2 separate regions of the Homo sapiens genome follow, and region 2 is linked to region 1. Evidence: promoter capture Hi-C in 16 types of primary human blood cells and fetal thymus (Javierre and others, 2016). All regions are on one chromosome and are shown on one strand. Each heading gives the region's core, a stretch centred on a gene start or on the middle of the fragment in contact. The rest is flanking DNA. Distances are from core to core; before and after follow the strand shown. Region 1 holds the start of ACP7 (acid phosphatase 7, tartrate resistant (putative)). Region 2 holds the start of SAMD4B (sterile alpha motif domain containing 4B).

Region 1 (4,736 bases), core at 605-3,104:
CAAGTAGCTGGGACTATAGGTGCATGCCACCACACCTGTCTAAGATTTTTTCTTTTTCCCTAAGAGGCAGAGGTCTCACTATGTTTCCTAGGCTGGTCCCAAACTCATGAGCTCAAGTGATCCTTCCGCCTCAGCCTCCCAAACTGCTAAGACTACAGGTGTGAGCCCCCACACTCAGCCTCAGTTCTGCCCCTTTACAGGTAGCAACTCATTTACACCTCACCATGAGGTTGTACTAATATTACCCCATTATCCAGATGAGGAGACTGAGGACAGAGAGGTTAAGCCACTTGCCCAAGATTAGGCAGCAGGTACATAGCAAAGCTGGGATTCTAACCCACGTGGTCTGGGTGCCAATGGTCCAGAGTCCAAGCTCTTACTCCCACAGTGGAAGGATCCTAATCAAAGATCGGGAGGCAGTCAGCCTCGTGGGGAAGAGGAGAAGAGGGATGGAGAAGGGGCTGGGTAACCCAGCTCTGTTATCATTCATCCACTGGTTCCTTCCACAACTGGCTCTGAGGCCTACCGTGCATGAACGAACAAACGTGCCAGGTCCCGGAAACACAACAGAGATGCAATGAACAAGGACAGCAGCGGTCCCCTTTTGAGAGCAGGGGAGCACTCTCTGTGGGCTGAGCACCATGATCATTCCCCACACTTCCAGGTGTTCCACAGCCTGTACTTCCTATTCCACAGAGGTGGATGATGGAGGCTCAGGAGGAATGAGCCACCCGCCTAGGGGCTCACAGTGTGGGATTCCTGAGCCCTCAAACAACGAAGCACCGCTGGGCCTCTCTGGTAGAGGCATAGAAATGAGTCAGGGACACTTACCTGGGTAAGACAGATGGACTTGCTCTGGGGCAGCGCTGGGAGCCCCCAGGGACCCCTGGACTCCCAAGGAGAATAGCAGGAGTAGACAGTAACAGGACCAGTAGCCAGGAAGGGGGTGCATGGTGGTGGGGTGGTGATGGCAGACCGGGGAAAAGCAGGGGGACTGAGGAGATCAGCTCCCCACAGGTACAGCAGGAAGGGCTGGGAGGATGGGGAACAGAGGATGATCAGGCAGTGCTCTGGGGGACAACAGAGGCAGGGCAGGGAGGTCTCCTTCAAGATGGGTGGTTATCCAGGTGCTGGAGAGAGAAACCAAAAATAAGAATCGCTAAGGAACAGCAGCAGAGCTCTCTGAGCCTCACTCACAGTGTGCCAACCGCTTGACATAGATTAATTCACGGAAGCCTCACGACATTGCTATGAAGTGGTGGCTGTGAGCATTGTCATCCCCATATCACAGATGAGGAAACCGAGCAGCTGAGTGATTCAGCTGCACAGCTAGGATGGGATGGAGCCAGGATTTGAACCCAGGAGGGCCTGATTCCAGAGCCTTGCTCCTAACCAGAGCTCACTCTCAGTGCTGGGGGTCTGGGAGCGGGGTGGAGGCTGTGTAGGAGGTTGCATTCCGCAGCCCCATCCCCAGCTTTCCATCCTGCTGTTAGAAACCCCAGTTCTCCTACCTACTCCCGAGATTCCAAGCATTCCCGCCTGCCCCCGGGACCTCGCCTCCCTACTCCATCCTTAGCCTTCTATTTTGCTCCTAGTGACCCCAATCCTCCCACACCACCCCCAGATCCTTTAGAGCCCATCATGGCCAGAGCGGCCGCATCCTCTCTCCCCATCCCCAGCGTCCCTGCCCTTCCCCCATCTGTACCCACCCCCCTTCTCTCCAGCGCTTTCCCGCCTGCTCCAGCTCCGTCTCCAGCTGCCAGGATGGAGCCGGGTCGGGACCATCCGGGAAAGGGGACGCCCTCCCGGACCCCGGCTCACCCTCGGGGGCGCCGGCTGCCCGCACGCGCCTCTCCCGCCACCAGCGCCGCCCCGGTATTTATGAGTTCGCGGGTGCCGAGGCCTCTTGCCGCCTACAGCCGTCCCAGCCCCGGAAGAGCCGGTCGCCTCGGGGTGACAGCCTCCCTAGACAGCCAGGGCCCCGGGTCCCACAGGTCCGGCCGGTCCTGCCTGGGCGCCCCACACCCACCCGCCCACCCCACCAGGGCGTGGCGCGGGAAGGGGGACCCAGGAAGGTTATGATACGTCTCCGGCGCGCCACCTCTGAGCCGGCCACCAGGTGAGAGCCCAGGCAGGTAACCCTGCGCTCGTCCCTCAGGCGCCCACTCATCAGCTGGGGAGCCCCAGGGCACGGACACCGGCCCCTATCCTGGCCCTGCCCGATCCCCAGGTACCCAGGTGTGCAGGACCGGGGGATCCCCAACCTTTCCAGCCTCGCTGCATCTTCCTCCAGCCTTCCGGCTTCCTTCCTTTCCATGCTGAGCCCACTGACCCCTCCTCAGAAGCCCGGGGCAACCTCAAAACAAAACCAGAATCCCGGAATTGCAGTGGGCTTTCTGAGCTGTGCGACCTAGGTGAGTTATTCAACCTCGCTGGACCTTGGGTTTTTTCACCTGTAAAAAGGAGGTGATGCTCGTATATACCCCGTGGGCTGTTGTGAGGAGTAAACGAGTTGCTGCATGAAATTTCATGCCGATAACAGGGCCCGGCCCAGAGTAAGGGCTGGATAAGAATCAGCTGTTCTTTTTAATCGTATTAATGCAGGAACTCCAGAAACTGACGTCTAGGGAACAAGTTAGGGTTCTCCCCTGTAAACCTTTGCAATCTGTTTGAACGTGAGGAGCGGCTGCCACAAAAAGAGAAGCAGGGAAGAACTGGGGGGGCCCGGATTTCCAGTCGTTTCCCCTTCCTGACTGCAGATACAATGACCCGCCACCACTTGGCTTTGTAAATTCAGAGCACATAGGCTTCTACTGATTGTGGACACCAATTTCAGAAATTGGCACTAGGAGTGTGGGAAAATCAAAACGAGCCCTTTGCACTGTTTGAGTTTTTTTTTTTTTCTTCCCACTTCCAGAGTCTCCATTACAGCCTAAAATATAATGAAAGTAGCTCTCATAACCAAACTTGAGTACCTGCCACTCCTGTGGCCCCCAATTATAACCTCCCCGTATTCTTAGTTCGTCCAGAATGGGAGGTTCCTAAGCTTTTTTGTGCTAAAGATGCCTATGGCAAGCTGGTCAAGCCCTTCTCAGGATCATGTCGTTACATGCATAATATAAATACACAGAAATACAAAGGAAACCAGTGCTATTGTGATACAAGGTGTTGGGGGGTTTTTTTGTTGTTGTTGTTTTGTTTTTGTGTTTGTTTTTTGGTTTTGTGTGTGTGTGTGTTTTGTTTTTGTTTTGAGACAGAGTTTCACTCTGTTGCCCAGGCTGGAGCACAGTAACACGATCTTGGCTCATTACAACCTCTGCCTCCTGGGTTCATGCGATTTTCGAGCCTCAGCCTCCCGAGTAGCTGGGACTACAGGCATGAACCTGGCTGAAAACGAGAAGTTTTAAAAACACACGAATATACATGCATATATTTCTATTAGCCATCAGAGTGATGACATTATCACAGGTCAGGTAGTCTCTGGAGAATGAAAAGGACAAACGTCTTAATATCATTATGAAAATACTTTTGACCTCACTAGCCCCTGAGAAAGGTCTTGCGGACCCACAGGTGCCCCCAGACCACATTTTGAGAACTGCTAGATTAAAGTGTAGTAAAAGGAGAGGTAAAAAAAGTTTCCCCTATCCAAGTTCACGTAGCTCCTGAATTCCCAACCACCAGCCCAGGTGAAAAGAGCCCACTGGAGTTGCCTCTGGTTGGACCCTGACTGGCGGATGAGGGCTTATAGCTCAGGTATAAGCTTGCGGTGGGGAATGGAGCATCGACTCTGGGGCTAGATGGCCTGGTTATAAATCTATCTTCAGCACTGACTAACTTAGACAAGTGATTTAACCGCACGGTGCCTCGGTTTCCCCATCTGTGAAATGGGAACAATAGTAGCACCTTATAGGGTTGTTGCAAGGATTAAATAATAAACCCCTTAGAACAGTGCCTAGCACAGAGCAAGTGCCCCCGTATAATCTTCTAATTATCATTATAATAATTAGAAGATTATTGATAATAATCTTCTAATTATTACCAAGACATCTAGTCTGCCCAGTTTGTAAGGCAGAGTTTTAATAAGCCTAGTTTTCTAAGTCACTTTACTCTGTCCCCCAGGCTGGAGTGCAGTGGTGTGATCTCGGCTCACCGCAAACTCCACCTCCCGGGTTCTAGCCATTCTCCTGCCTCAGCCTCCCAAGTAGCTGGGACTACAGGCACGTGCCGCCACACCCAGCTAATTTTTTGTATTTTTAGTAGAGACAGGGTTTCACCTTGTTAGCCAGGATGGTCTTGATCTTCTGACGGCGTGATCCGCCCGCCTCGGCCTCCCAAAGTGCTGGGACTGCAGGCGTGAGCCACCGCGCCCGGCCTTGTATTTTTAGTAGAGACGGGGTTTCACTGTGTTGGCCAGGCTGGTCTCGAACTCCTAGACTCAAGTGATCTGCCCACCTCGGCCTCCCAAAGTGCCGGGATTACAGGTGTGAGCTGCTGTGCCCAGTCAATTTAAACCTTTTAAATTATGAAATGTGATATACATGCAGAAAAGTAATGAGACATAAATGTCCCACTGAATAAATATGACAAAGTGAACACAACTGTGTAACCACCAACCGGGTGCAAGAAAAATAATCTTATCGCCTTCCCCCAAGCCCCCTCCTGCTTCCTCTCCAGCACAGCTTTCTTCCTTCCCATGAAGAAATCCACTTAACTTTTACCTGACTTTGGTTTCCCCA
Region 2 (4,736 bases), core at 712-3,211, 260 kb before region 1:
TAGGAAAAACTCTTCAGAGATCTCAGTTGAGGAGAAAGCTGAGTAAAGTCTCCAAAAGAGTATATGGGGAAGGCGGGGTCTTCTGAGAGAGTGTCAGAGGAGAGGGTTTTTCAGAAAGAATTATAGGACTTTCTCAGAGCAAGAGCTCGGGTTATTTTGGGGGAAAATTAGGTGTGTGTGAGGGTCTTCTTCAAGGGATTCTAGAGGATTTAGGGGACCTGTGTGAGCAAGTTCAGGGAGGGATATCTCTAGAAAAGTCCCTTAGTAAGGCAGAAGTATTGATTCAAGGGGTTCTGGTGGTGTCAGGAAGGTCTTGGAGGGATTTCAAGAACATACGTCAGGAGGGCTCCAGGGGGTCGCTGGGGTCTCTAAGCTGTGTGTGTGTGTGGGGGGGGGGGGTCCTGAAAACCTGCATATCAGAGGGGTCACCAAGAGAATCTTACGGTCTTACAGGGGTTGTGAGGAGGATCTTCAGAAAATTCCTCTAAAACCGGTCTGCAAGGGGGGATTCTGAGGTGTTAGTGAAGGGGAGTTCTACGGGATCTGAGAGAAAAACCATGAGGAAAGTTTTCAGGATCCTTAAACAATTTTTGGAGCGTGTGATGTGGGGGACTGGAAAAGATGTGGAGTATGTAAAAGGGATTTTGGAAGAAGCTTTTGGAATATGATGCTGAGAGTCCTCTGGAGATTTCAGGCAATTGCTGGAGATTTTTAGAATGAGTGGGGGTGGGGAAGGGGATCCCGGTGAAGATCACTGGGCTACATGAGGGTGATCTCTAGGGCATTTTAGGGTGGTGAGACCAGGGGGAGACAGGAGGCCTCTGGGGGAGACTTTTGGGATCTGTGGAAAGGTCCAGAGGGATACGTGAAGGGGGAGTGTGTATGAGAGATGGTTGCAATACGGTGGGGAGGGGGATGGAGTCTTCTAGGTGAGTTTTTGGGATCTGGGGGCATTTCACAAAGTCTGTGAGGAAGATTTATTTTGGGGATATGGGAAGGAGATCTTCAGGGAAGATGATCACGGTCCGTCGGGGGCATTCTGAAGGACTTCTGGGAGGGGGAATCAGAAATGCAGGGGGTATGAGCGGAAAATCTCCAAGGAGGTTTCTGGAATGGGGTAAGTGGGAGGGAAAATTCTTAGGATCCGGGAGGGGGAAGTCGGGTGAGCCTGTTGGGCTGTGAGAGGCAGGGCTCCGGGGGAGAGTTCTGGAATGGACAGGGGTCCGGAGGGAGCCTTGGGGAGGTGTGCAGGGCTCGTGAGGGAGGCTCCTGGAGCAGCTATGAGAGCCACGCTGTGGAATGGACGAGGAGTGGCCTCCGAGGACTATTTCTGGAGACAGGAGGAGGACGGGGGCTTCGGGGCCAAAGGGCGGGGGTCTGCGAGGAAAGCTGCTGGGACCCATGAAGGGCTCGAGGAGGCGACTCCACGGGAGGGGTGGGTTTTGCGGGGACCTTTCAGGGCGCACACGGGGGATCGGCAGGCTTTCCGGGGCTCTCCGAGGGGGATGTGCGGGGGGTCCTGAGGAGAGGCCCCCGGCCCGGCCCCTCGGCAATCCCGAGGGCATGAGAAAGATTTCGGAGGGAAGCTTCGGCCAGGGCCCAGGAGGGAGACTGGGGACGGGCGCGGGGCTTCTCCCGTGGGGCCCGGCCCCCCGAGGCCCGCGTTCCGCACCCGCCCGCCGCCGCCGCCCGCGGTTCGGGGTCCCTGAGGGGGCGGGGCCGCCCGCGCGGCCTGGGTCGCCCTGAGGGGAGCCCCGCGCGCCCCGACTCGCCGCCGCCCCGCGCCGGCCCGGCCCGAGACTCACCGCCTCGGCCTTCGCCGCCACCGCCGCCGCTCGGGCCTCCTCAGGCCACCGCCGCCGCCGTCGCCCCCTCTCGGGCCCGCAAGCTCCCCTCCCTCCTCCCGCACCGACCACCGCCGCCGCCGCCGCCGCCGCCGTCGCGCTGCGTCACCGCGCCGTGCGTCACCGCCCCTGGCCCCGCCCCGACGGGGGCCGCCGCGCGCCGGCATTAGCTCACGCCCGGGTGACGAACGGCGCGCCAGCCAACGGGCGGCGAGGGCAGCCCGAAGGGCGGGAGGTGTGAGCCGAGTAAGGCGGGGTCGCGGCGAGGGGGGAGCGACGGTGGTGGAACGGGGCCCAAGAGGCCCGCCCCCTCCTCGGCGGGATTGGTCGGACGTGGGGGTGACGGGCAGTCGGCCAGGCCTGGGGTTTGGGGCTGGGGGGCGGGGAAGGGGCGGGGCGCGCGGGGCGTTGCCCAGGGCAACGGGCCCGGCGGAGTCTGAGGTTGGGCCTCCAGGCCCGCAGGGGGCAGGCTCGCGCGCGTCCACCCCAGCTGCCCCGAGCGAAGTCACAGTTCCTGATTCAGGCGTTCCAGGCCTCCTCTTCCCCGCCCCTTGGGTGGCCCGCCTCACCCAAGGCTGTCCTCAGTGGGCGTCTGCACTCGGGCTTCTGGGCGCTCGGCTTTCTCATCGCGCTGTTCTCAGCCTTGCCGCTTGCTCTCTCCGATGGGAATGGCGAGGCGAGATCTAGCCTTTAGGGTGGGAAGAGAATGCACAGAAAGCGCTAAGGATCAAGGAGGCTGTCAATAAACGGGAGTTGTTGCTGTGACTTTGGTTGTGATCTGTGCGTTCCACAAACTGTATTGGGTCCGGGTGAACTAATCAGAGGGACCTGTGTTCAGAAGGCTCTCGGTGACAGAGATCTGGCTTGTTACAGGCACTTAGAGAGGCAGTCGGGATGGAGGGTCGAGTTGAAGACAGGGAGGGGTGAGGAACGAGCAGAGGCCAGTTGTTTGGCCACTTGAGGGAGTTTGGACTTGTCCCGAGGGCACTAGGGAGCCGTGAAGGGCTTCAAGCCGGGGAGGATCATGGTGAGTCTGGGGTTTTGGAGAGATGTCTCTCTGGCTTATACATGGAGGGCGGATTGGAGGGAATGAAACGGGATCGGGAGTCCAGGGAGGCAGCTGGGGGAGGGGGTGGGGAAGAAAGAGGGGGTTTGCACGAGGGAGGGACTGTGGGGAGGGAAGGAGGTGCAGGTGGGAGGGACGCCCTGGAGGCAGAGCGAACGGGCCCTGACACTGGCTGGCTATGGAGTGGAAGGGGGAGAAAAGTTTAGGACCAGGCCCCTCTAGCCGGGAGACTGGGCGCCAGAAGCAGGTTGGGAAGATACTAAGCCCAATGTGGATGCCTAGTAGCGAGGTCCAGGAGGTGCACAAACCCTGGGTCTGGAGCTTAAGGGAGAAATTGAGGCTGGAGACCAAGATTTAAGGATCGTCAAAGATGGTAATTGAGGCTGTGGGAGTTAGGGGTCTAGCCCGGGGAGGGTATGAAGGGTCACTGGAGACAGGGACTGAACAGAACCCTGAAACAGAGAGGCAGGATTTGAGCAAAGGAATTGACGCTGTCGATGAATATTGCAAAAGGCAGCCAGAGAGAGGAAAACCAGGAGAGTGTGGCATTATAGACGCTTTGAGGAAAGGCTGTTTCACCAGGGTGGGGCCATGTCACAAACCCCATCCACTACCTCCTGCATTTAAGCAACAGCCTTCACACTGCATAGAATTATTGTGCTCATTAACTGCTGGTTCATTAATTCATTCAATAATATTTCTTGACTATCTAATATGTGCCAGGCTCTGCTTAAGGTGCTAGAAACACAACAATAGGATGAGCGCGGTGGCTCACACCTGTAATCCCAGCATTTTGGGAGGCCGAGGCAGGTGTTCGAGACCAGCCTGACCAACATGGTGAAATCCCATCTCTACTAAAAATACAAAATTAGCGGGGCGTGGTGGCACATGCCTGTAGTCCCAGCTACTTGGGAGGCTGAGGCAAGAGAATCGCTTGAACCCGGGTGGCGGAGGTTGCAGTGAGCCAAGATCGTGCCATTGCACTCCAGCCTGGGCAACAACAGTGAAACTCCGTCTCAAAAAAAAAACAAAAAAAAAACAAAAAGACTTACATTCTAGTTCTTGGGGACACAAACAATAAGGAAATACAGTGTAACTTCGTGATAAGTACCAAGGAGAAAAAGAAAGCAGTGGCTGGGCATGGTGACTCATGCCTGTAATCCCAGCACTTTGGGAGGCTGAGGCTGGTGGATCACTTGAGGCCAGGAGTTTGAGACCAGCCTGGCCAAAGTGGCAAAACCCTGTCTCTACTAAAAATGCCAAAAATTAACTGGGCATAGTGATGCGTGCCTGTAGTTCCAGCTACTCAGGAGGGTGAGGCAGGAGAATCACTTGAACCCAGGAGTCGGAGGTTGCAATAAGCCGAGATTTGCCATTGCACTCTAGCCCAGGTGACAGAGCGAGACTATGTCTCTAAATAAATAAACAAATAAATAACAAGAAAGCAGCTAAGGGAATGGAGTAATGCAGCCAGAATTAATTTACATGGGGAAAGGCCTCTTTCATTAGGTGAGACTGAAACAGAAATCTGAAGGAATGAAGGAGAAAGTGGGTTCCAGAAAGAGAAAACAGCAAGTGCAAAGGCCATGTAGTAGGATCATTCACAGAACCACAAAGGGGCCAGCATTGCTGGAGTGGAGTGAGCAAAAGAGGGCAGTGAAGGACAAGGTCCAAGAGGCAATGGGGTAGGGGTGGTGACAGATAACTTAGTATTTTAGTCATTGTTGGTGTGTGTGTGTGTGTGTGTGTGTGTGTGTGTGGGGGGGGGGGGCAGGGTCTCACTCTGTTGCCCAGACTGGATTGTAGTGGTGCGATCGCGGCTCACT

What was found. The method cuts DNA at HindIII sites, captures the fragments that hold promoters and counts their contacts. A CHiCAGO score of 5 or more calls a contact.
Region 2: a contact is called between the fragment with the promoter of SAMD4B here and the fragment with the promoter of ACP7 in region 1, in 3 of 17 cell types (total CD8 T cells, naive CD8 T cells and total CD4 T cells). The highest score is 6.8, in total CD8 T cells.

Annotation. Positions count from the first base shown.
Region 1 is chr19:39,081,486-39,086,221 of GRCh38, reverse strand. It overlaps ACP7 (acid phosphatase 7, tartrate resistant (putative)), which reads right to left and starts at 1,854. Exons shown (of 13, transcript NM_001004318.3): 1 at 1,822-1,854; 2 at 832-1,130. The coding sequence starts at 952. RefSeq lists an enhancer at 1,501-2,001. The HindIII fragment of the contact is 23,028 bases long and covers 1-3,048 here.
Region 2 is chr19:39,339,646-39,344,381 of GRCh38, reverse strand. SAMD4B (sterile alpha motif domain containing 4B) reads right to left here and starts at 1,961. Exons shown (of 14, transcript NM_001384574.2): 1 at 1,806-1,961. RefSeq lists a silencer at 1,843-2,272. The HindIII fragment of the contact is 6,593 bases long and covers 1,589-4,736 here.